Linked DNA regions of Homo sapiens: region 1 is linked to region 2. Evidence: promoter capture Hi-C in 16 types of primary human blood cells and fetal thymus (Javierre and others, 2016). All regions are on one chromosome and are shown on one strand. The core of a region is centred on a gene start or on the middle of the fragment in contact, and the rest is flanking DNA. Distances in the headings are between cores, read along the strand shown.

Region 1 (4,468 bases), core at 768-3,267, 280 kb before region 2:
GGCCATAGCACCCTGCTGGAGGCCAGGCAGGTCAGGCTGAGCAGAGGGGCCTGGCTACTGCCCGGAGGCTCTTGTGGGCTGCAGACATCATCGCCCCTCACTCCCTCTCACTGCCTGTCTCGAATGTGGGAATGCAGGCACCCCGGAGGGCTGGAAGGAAGTCCAACTGTGGCTGGCAGCTCGGGCAGGTGGCAGCCCAAGGGGCAGCAGGAAACAGCCGCCCCCCACGCCCCAGGGCTGCCCCGGAGCTTAAGAACTGACAAATGGGCCAAACCCTCAGGGCAGAGAACTTTCCAAAGTGAAGCACACCCTCCTTGCAGCTTCAACAGAGTCCTCCAGGGACAAGTGGCAAAGCCATCAGCATGGAATAAGTTCCAGAAGTTCCTGAATGTGCATTGCCCCCACACTGAACGGTCCCCCAGGGCTGGGCTTCTAGAACGCAGGCGTGAGATTTTATACCAATCCTTCCGCCTCCCTCCTCCCTGCTGTGTCTGGGCGTGCCTGGGCCGATCCCTCGCCCCCTTCCTCATCTGTTAGGAAACGTCATCGGCTCGGCTGGGGGGCCTGGGTGCAAGTGAGCGCGAGGCTGGGAGCAGTGGGCTCCCAGGTGCCCTGCTCCTCCACTTCCGCCTCCCTCCTCTGGATGCGGGAGGCCACAGACAACGCAGTTCTGAAGAGTCCAGGTGCTAGGCTGCCCGCGGAATACCGGATTCCCAAGCCATTTTGATAAGCAAAGCCATCCCCACCCCACCATGGGGCTCTGCCATGATCCGTCCAGAGAGAAACTCCGGGTGACCAGGGACCCTGGTCACGGGGCTTCTGGAATCCGGATCTCTAGGCAGGAAGGAAATGCCCACAGCTTGGTCCCCTGCCCCGCACTCAAATGACAGTAGCTTGGCGATGGGGGTGGTGCTGGGGCCTGGCATGATGCCAGGCTAAGGGCTCCCCTGGGAGAGGGCTGCAAAGGGCCCCCAGCCGCCCCCCAGGTCTGCCTGGGCTCAGCCGCTTCCAGCCTCCCTGCCTGAGGCCCACGGTGCTTCCTGGCCGCCGGGCCTCCCTCCCCCGGGGGCTACAGGCAGCCTGGTCTCCCACGGCCACACACGGCACCCTGTGTACATCCCACAGCCTGACCGCCAAGCAGGGGGTCATTACCGGCCACAGAGGGCTGGCGGCGGCCCAGGCCATTCACCCACTGGAAGCCTGGCAGTGGGATTCCCCAGTCGGGGGTGAGTGGGCGAGGAGTCTCTGCCTGCCTGCACCCAATGTGCTCAGGCACCCGCTCTGATCTCAGAGCCTGGGGGTCATCTGGGGAGGGGTCTCTGCTGGGACACAGCACCAGGCCGCCAACAGTGATGGTGGAGAGGCCCTCCACTGGCCAAGGGGGCTCACGGAGTGGGGAGAGGCAGCTCCATGAAACCCAGGGGCCTTAGTGACACCAGAAGGGAAGGCCAGAATCGGGAGGGGGGCCGTGGACCCTCACTGGGGGTTGGAGGGTATTTAGACCTTTGAGGAGGAGGCCATGACCCTGGAAGAAAGGGTCCTAGGACTCAGAAGGGACCCTCGAGAAGGAAGGAGGCCGGTACCTGCGAGGAGGAGGTGGCCGTGACCCTGGAGGGGGGGATGAGGGGTCTTTAGGCCCTCGGGGATGGGGGCCGTGACCCTGGGAGAGGAGGGGGCCGTGACCTGGGGTCCCTGACCCCGCGACCCCGAGAGGCCCATGTCACCTGCTGGTAGTCGGTGTCCTCGGGCCGGAACTGGCTGCTAGTGGCCTCCCAGCTCAGGTCGAAGTGGGGCAGCCGGTGCAGGAGGCTCACCCACCAGGGCGCCGCGTAGCTGACCCCGGCCATGGCGGGGCCCGGCCGCCTCCGGATGCGCGCGGCCTGCGCGGGGCTCCCTTGCTGGCCCGGGGCGCGGGCTTCAGGGACCCGTCGACCCCCGCCTGGCCGCCCGCATCATCCGCGCGCTCCTGGGCCCGGCCCGGCCCGGCTCGGCCCGGCTCGGCTGCGCTCGGCTCCGCTCGGCCGCCCGCGCCCGCCGCCTCTTTGTTCGCCGCCGCCGCCGCCGCCCCCTCCGCACCCCCGCCCGTCCGCCCGCCGGCCCCGCCCCCGAGCCTCCATTGGCCCGCCTCCCGCCAGCCCAGCCCCCGCGCGCCCCGCCCTCTGTCCCGCCTCTTACCCACCATTGGTCTATCCCCCGCCGATCCCGCCCCACAGCGTGCCCCGCCCACTCGCTCCTGAACCTCTATTGGTCCTTTTACCTGATGGTTTTGCCCCTCCACTCGCATCCCCGCCCATTACCCAATGGCCCCGCCCCTCCACGTGTCCCCGCCCTTCGGCCCCGCCTCTGTACCGTCATTAGTCCGCCGGCAGAAGCTCCGCCTACTTCCTCGCCTTCTTGGAGGGACGCCTGGCCCCTAAGGCGCTGGAAGACCGACCCTCAGCGCTGTAAGACCCGGGCCAGCCAGTCTTTCCACGTGGCCGTGGGGGCTGGAACCCTGGCTGCATATGCAGCTGCGCTTCATTCCATGAATTCGCTCTTCGTTTGGATCTTTGCATGTTTCTTATTTGACTCGAGGGTCCGGCCTGGTGGGCTGGGCTGGTCTTGGCCTCCCCATTGCACACACAACAGCCCACAGCCCGCAGCGCCCAGCAAGGCACCGAGTGGCCTATCTGTACAATGGACATGATCTGGATTCAGGGCCTGGCTGGGGCACCTAGAGCTGTGTGATCTGGGGCAAGTTACTTAACCACTCTGTGCATCGGTGTCCTTGTCTGTAAAAGGGGATGATAAAGCTACGAGTGTTGGCAGGGCGTGGTGGTGGTTCATGCCTGTAATCCCAGCACTTTGGGAGGCCGAGGCAGGCGGATCACCTGAGGTCAGGAGTTCGAGACCAGCCTGGCCAAAATGGTGAAACCCCGTCTCTACTAAAAATACAAAAATTAGCCAGGCGTGGTGGCGGGCGCCTGTAATCCCAGTTACTCTGGAAGCTGAGGGAGGAGAATTGCTTGGACCTGCGAGATGGAGGTTGCGGTGAGTGGAGATTGCGCCACTGCACTCCAACCTGGGCAACAGAGTGAGACTCCATCTCAAAAATAAAAAAAATTTTTTTTAAAAAGGTACGAGTGTTAAGTGGATCCGCAGGTAGATTCAGTCCCCATCCGGCCTTCCCTCTGGGGAAGGTTGAGTCTTTTGTCAAGACCTAAGATGAAGACGGTGCCCTGTTCTGGTGTCCTGGGGCCTAAAAATTCAGGCACCTGCCAGAGAGGGCCCATCATGGGCTTTGGAGCCACACAGCCAAATTTCCTAACAGGGCCTCCCCATGCCTGTGCCTCCTCCTTTGCTAAAGGGGAGATGGGAGCTGCCAGAGCCAGGAGGATGGACATAGTGCGTGCTTGGGCCCAGGTGCACGCCTCCCTCCGCACTCTAGGGCAGTGGGTGCATCCTGGCTCTGCTTCATCACCTGGGGCCTTATTCCTGGACCTCCTGTGTACTGAGAAACAGGTTTCCACACCCGGGCTCCACCATCTGCTGTGCCCGACTTGGCCAGCTCTGTGGGCAGGCAGGCCGTTCCTGGCAGGAAGAGCTCTTTGCAGGCAGGGACGGTTCCGGGCAGTGTCTTCCCAGGAGGCCTGGACTTTGGCTCATTGACTGCCCTGACTCGCCTGTTTTCCTGTGATAGGGCACCGGGCAAGAGGGACTAGCTGAGCTGCGGTTTCCACCCGCTGGATAACTTGGAGACACCACCCAGCTGGGAAATAACAGCCAGGCAGAAGGGGGGAGGTCGCATTCTCCATCCCTAAAGGCCGAAGAGCCAGAAATTTGGGGTGGGGTGGGGATACTGGCTCAGGTTCCTCTCTCTCCAATGCCAAGGATGGTGGGAGCTCCAGGCAGAATGAAGCCCCCCCCAACCCCCTAAGACCAAGGCTACCTACTTGGAGTGGGCTGGTACCTGGCCAGGTGAGTCCTCTTCTTTGGCGCCAGCTGATTGCTCACTGTGAACAGGTGGCTTAGGCAGGACGCCCACTCCTAGCCTGACACTGCTCCAGCATCCAGCCTGTGACCTCATCTCCACAGCCAGGGGATCGCCTGCACGGCCCGTGCCCTGGGCTGACTCTGACCTCAGAGTTCTGTGTCGCATAACTCCAGGGATGAACAGGGCAGTCCCTGGCCAGCTGCAGAAATTGTCCTCATGGCCTGAGATCGTTTCTGGTTCCTGCTGTTAGCAGCAGCTCCCATGGCCACAAACAGACCTCCTGCTTCCCCCCACCACAACTCCAGTGCCCTCCACACCAGCCTGGCAGCCCTGCCAGGGTACACACATGCAGGCAGGGGGTACAGGAGTTCCTTCCCCTGTTTCCAGAAGCCTGGCAAAATTGTACCTTTCCTTTTGATAAAGCCAGAAAGTCTGATGCAGACATGATGTGAGATGATAACTTAGGGTCAGGCACAGTGGCTCACGCCTGTAATC
Region 2 (4,484 bases), core at 602-3,101:
CAGGTGTGCACCAGCACACCTGGCTGACTTGTATTTCTGATAACCTTTTTTTCTTTTTCTTTTTTTTTTTTTTTTGAGACGGAGTCTTGCTCTGTCGCCCAGGATGGAGTGCAGTGGCAGGATCTCGGCTCACTGCAAGCTCCGCCTCCCAGGTTCACACCATTCTCCTGCCTCAGCCTCCAGAGTAGCTGGGAAATCCAGGTGCCCGCCACCACGCCCGGCTAATTTTTTTTTATTTTTAGTAGAGACGGGGTTTCACCGTGTTAGCCAGGATGGTGACCTCGTGATCCACCCGTCTCGGCCTCCCAAAGTGCTGGGATTACAGGCGTGAGCCACCCAGCCCGGCCCTCTGATAGCCTTTTAAAAATACGTTTAAATCATAAATTGGCAACTCCATGTTATTCCCGAAATTGTCCTGGTGTATCGCTGGCTACATCAGCAAGGGTATTTTTATTTTTCTCACTCTAGTATCAACTTAGCCAATCTGCAGAGGCTGATGTGTTCCCAACTTAAAGGCTTAAGAGAGCTAAAAAACAAAAGAAAAACAAATGAGACCAGCTCTCATCAGAAGTAGCTTCAGGAAAAAATCTCTGAGACAGGAAGCAAAAATATGCCTGTAAATCCAATCAAGGTTGAGATGAAGGCAAAGCTGGCTGTTATCGGCAATATTAAAACCTGGAAAAATAACTCTCTTTATAGATTTAGCGCAAGAGATAAAGAAAAATCAAACTGGAATTTCACAGGGTGCCTGTCCCACTAAGGAAGTCTCTGGAGATGGACAATTCTGAGGGGCAGGAGGACAAAATCACCGGCTCTGCCACAAGCTGTTCCTCCGATCCAGACCTTGGGAGGTCTGACTGGTCAGCTCTGGGGACACGTAGACCCGCAAACCTGCCACCGGGTCTTCGGTTTTTGCCGTACCCCCAGCTGCTACACTCACAGCACACCCAGCCATAACGGAGTACCCCATGTGCCCTCTCCCACCCTCTCAGATTTCTGGTTGTCATGCAAATGCCTGGCTCCCGAAGTGAGCTCCACCCTGTCCCCTTTTTCAGGAAAGAAAAGGGGAGGCGCTGGGCTCTCAGAACACTTCCAGGGCACTCGGGAACCCCTCCCTCGGTGGCTTCTCAGGAACACACGGACACCCTCGCTGGAACTTCTGCACGAACCGGTGGCACAGCCCGACGATATCTCCCACCTCGGGAACCCCAGCCACGCTCCCGCGCCGCTCGCCAGCCCCGCCCCGGGCGCCCTCACCTTCCTCGCTCACGTCGTCCACGAAGTCCTCGGGGTCGCTGAAGGAGGGCTCGTCCGCGTCGCCGTTCTCCAGCGCCCGGGGTTCGGCCTCGGCCGCTCTGCCCTCGTTTCCTCCCGCGTCCTCGGACACCGCCTGGGCCCGGCTGTCGGAGCGCTCGTCCCGAGCCTGCTCTCCTGGGGCCTCGCCCTGTGCCGGGACAGGGGGCTCAGCATGCGACCCGGGCAGCTCCTCGGCGGCCGGCGGCGAGGGCGACTCGGACGGGCCGGAGGCCGCCTCTGCCTCGGCCGCCGGCTCGGTCCTCACCTCGGACTCCGGCCCGGCCTCCGCGATCCCCACCTCCTCACTGGAGGCCTCGGTCCCCGCGGCCTCCGGAGCGCCGGGCCCCGCGGGCCGCAGCAGCCCCTCGGCTGGCGGCGGCTCGGCGGCCGGCTGCTGCTGGCCGGGCTCGGCGCGCTCCTCGGCCGCCTCGGGCACCGCCACGTTCTCCGCGTCCTGCATGGGCCCAACGCTGCCTACTCGCAGGGCTCCGCGGCCGCCGCGCTTCCGACTCTCCCAGGCCGCACCGCGCGCCGCGACGGCTACAGCCCAGCCATGTGCGTGCGACGGGGAGGCCGCACCAAGGCCGCGGGGCGGGGGGCGCACCCACGCCCTGGGGCCTCACGAACGACCCTGAGAGGACTCGCATCCACAAGACCGCGCCCGAAAATCATCAAACTGATATATTTGTGACAAGAAAGTGCTTAATTCCATTCAGCAAGGTTGTTTCTGTGCATCAGTAAACTCATGGGAGCATTGACCACCCCATGTGTGGCAGCAGATGGTTCCGTCCAACATGGCGTCCTCCCCCTTTCCTTTCCCGTCGGACGCTGCGGGGCGGGACTGAACTATTTGTGGAGCTGAAGGCGGGGACAAGAAATGATTTTAGTACCCGGAATGCTAGGAAAATGTCCTCTAACTCAACAGTTAATACCCTGGAAGAGTGGAGACTCAACAGGCGATTGCTCAGGGCGTCTGAGCCTTTCGCTAGGGAAACCGTTTAGTTTACGTTACTAAAGTCCCCCCTGTCCGTGTCTGTCACTTGGACTCGCCTACTGACTGAGCAAAAGGACAGACTACTTCAAAATAGAAAAGGAATTCGGGGCGAGCCAGAGAGGGCCCACACGACTAGAAGGACGACTGCCTGGCGCGATACAAAAATGTATGGAAGTTTCTTTAATCGCTTACCCCCAGTCCTTCCCTAGCGGCCGTCACTGCCTGTTTCCCCCCATTCGGGCTTTCACAGTGGTTCAGTCCATCCGAGGCCGCCGCCTTCAGCGCGGGACAGCGCGGGTCACGTGGGGGCGGGGGCGGGTCCTCGCCGCGTGGAGCTCGAGGCTGACTCCGGAGGGACCGGAGCGGTTCGCTCTGCGCGGGTGCTCACGGGACGGGCATTGGGTGCATGTGGCTTCTATCTTGTTTTTTGCCGGAGTGGAGGACAACCACTGGTTGGGGGATGTCTTAATCATCCTAGAAAACAACCCAGTGGATCACGCCTGTTATCCCAGCACTTTGGGAGGCTGAGGTGGGAAGATCGCTTGAGCTTAGGAGTTGGAGACCAGCCTTGCCAACATAGCACCACCACCCCCCGCACGCCAGCCCTCATCTCTACGAAAATTAAATAAATAAATAAAACAGGTGGTACCCAGAGGCTGGGGTGGAGAGTGGGGAGTGTTTATCGGGGACGGACCTTCAATTTGGGAGGATGAGAACGTTTTGGAGATGACGGTGGTGATGGTACAACATGGTGAATGTACTTGATGCCACTGAACTGTATACTAAACTTCATATTAAAATGGCTAGGCCCTGCGCGGTGGCTCACACCTCTCTTCCCAGTACTTTGGGAGGCCAAGACAGGAGGATCACTTGAGCCCAAGAGTTCAAGACCAGTCAGGGCAACATAGCGAGACCCTGTCTTCGAAAAAATAAAATAAAATGCCAAAAAGGTAAATTTTATGTATATTTCATCCTATAGTTTTTTTGTTTTGTTTGTTTTCAGAGATAGGGTCTCGCTCTGTTGCCCAGGCTAGAGTGCGGTGGCATAATCACAGCGCCGCTGCAATCGGGACCTTCCAGCCTCAAGAGAATCCTCCCACCTCAGCCTCCCAAAGTGCCAGGATTACAAGCGTGAACCACCGCGCAGGGCCTAGCCATTTTAATATGCAATTTAGTGTACAGTTCAGTGACATTAAGTACATTGCCAAGTACTTGGGACTGAAGGTATGTGCCACCGTGCCCAGCTAATTTCTTTATTTGTAGATAGCATCTCACTGTGTTGCCCAGGCTGGTCTCAAACTCCTGGCCTCAAGCAGTCTTCCTCCCTCAGCTTCCCAAAGTGCCGGGACTATAGGCATGAGCCACCACACCCATCCCATCCTAACGGTGTTTAAAAGAGCGAAAAAGAAGCAGAGTCTTCCCATGCCTAGTACCAGGTTTGACTACTCCTCATCATGCTGTCAGTGGTGTATCTTTGGGCAGGTCACTTAATGCCTCCACCTCAGTTTCCGCATCTGTACAATAAGGGATGACAATTTTTTTTTTTTTTATTTAGACGGAGTGTTGCTCTGTCGCCTAGGCTGGAGTGCAGTGGCACGATCTCGGCTCACTGCAAGCTCCACCTCCCGGGTTCACGCCATTCTCTTGCCTCAGCCTCCCAAGTAGCTGGGAATACAGGTGCCCGCCACCACGCCTGGCTGATTTTTTTTGTATTTTTTTAGTAGAGACGAGGTTTCACCGTATTAGCCAGGATGGTCTCGATCTCCTGACCTTGTGATCCGCCTGCCTCGGCCTCCCAAAGTGCTGGGATTACAGGTGTGAGCCAATACGCCTGGGAGTATGTTTTTTCTACATATGCATGCTTACAATAGGGCACAGTAAGAGATTAACAGCAATAACTAATAGAACAATTATAACAATATATTGTCATAAAAGTTATGTGGATGTGGTGTCTGGTGGTGTGTCTGTGTCTCTCTCTGTCAAATTTTCTTCATTATGTAATATTTTCCAACCTAATTGACCATAAGTAACTGAAACAGTGCAATGTGAAACTGGGGGTCGGGGGGGCTACTGTGTTTGGAAGCAGTCTTCCCAGATGTAATCAAGATGAAGTCAAAGTGGACGAGAGTGGACCCTAAATCAGTGATTGATGTCCTTATTAGAAGAAGGAAATTATGGCCGGGCATGGTGGCTC

The links. Contacts are between HindIII fragments. The CHiCAGO score rates a contact against its expected background, and 5 or more counts as called.
Region 1: the fragment with the promoter of TTYH3 here is called in contact with the fragment with the promoter of EIF3B in region 2 in 1 of 17 cell types (neutrophils); the score reaches 6.0 in neutrophils.

Annotation. Positions count from the first base shown.
Region 1 is chr7:2,629,535-2,634,002 of GRCh38, reverse strand. It overlaps TTYH3 (tweety family member 3), which reads right to left and starts at 2,017. Exons shown (of 14, transcript NM_025250.3): 1 at 1,725-2,017. The coding sequence starts at 1,847. RefSeq lists enhancers at 507-616, 396-1,128, 1,861-2,592 and a silencer at 1,667-2,076. The HindIII fragment of the contact is 11,109 bases long and covers 1-4,468 here.
Region 2 is chr7:2,352,194-2,356,677 of GRCh38, reverse strand. It overlaps EIF3B (eukaryotic translation initiation factor 3 subunit B), which reads right to left and starts at 1,851. Exons shown (of 19, transcript NM_001037283.2): 1 at 1,258-1,851. The coding sequence starts at 1,756. It also overlaps a transcript of SNX8 not described here. RefSeq lists silencers at 1,395-1,504, 1,555-1,644, 1,825-1,964 and enhancers at 2,765-2,834, 2,505-3,060. The HindIII fragment of the contact is 9,918 bases long and covers 1-4,484 here.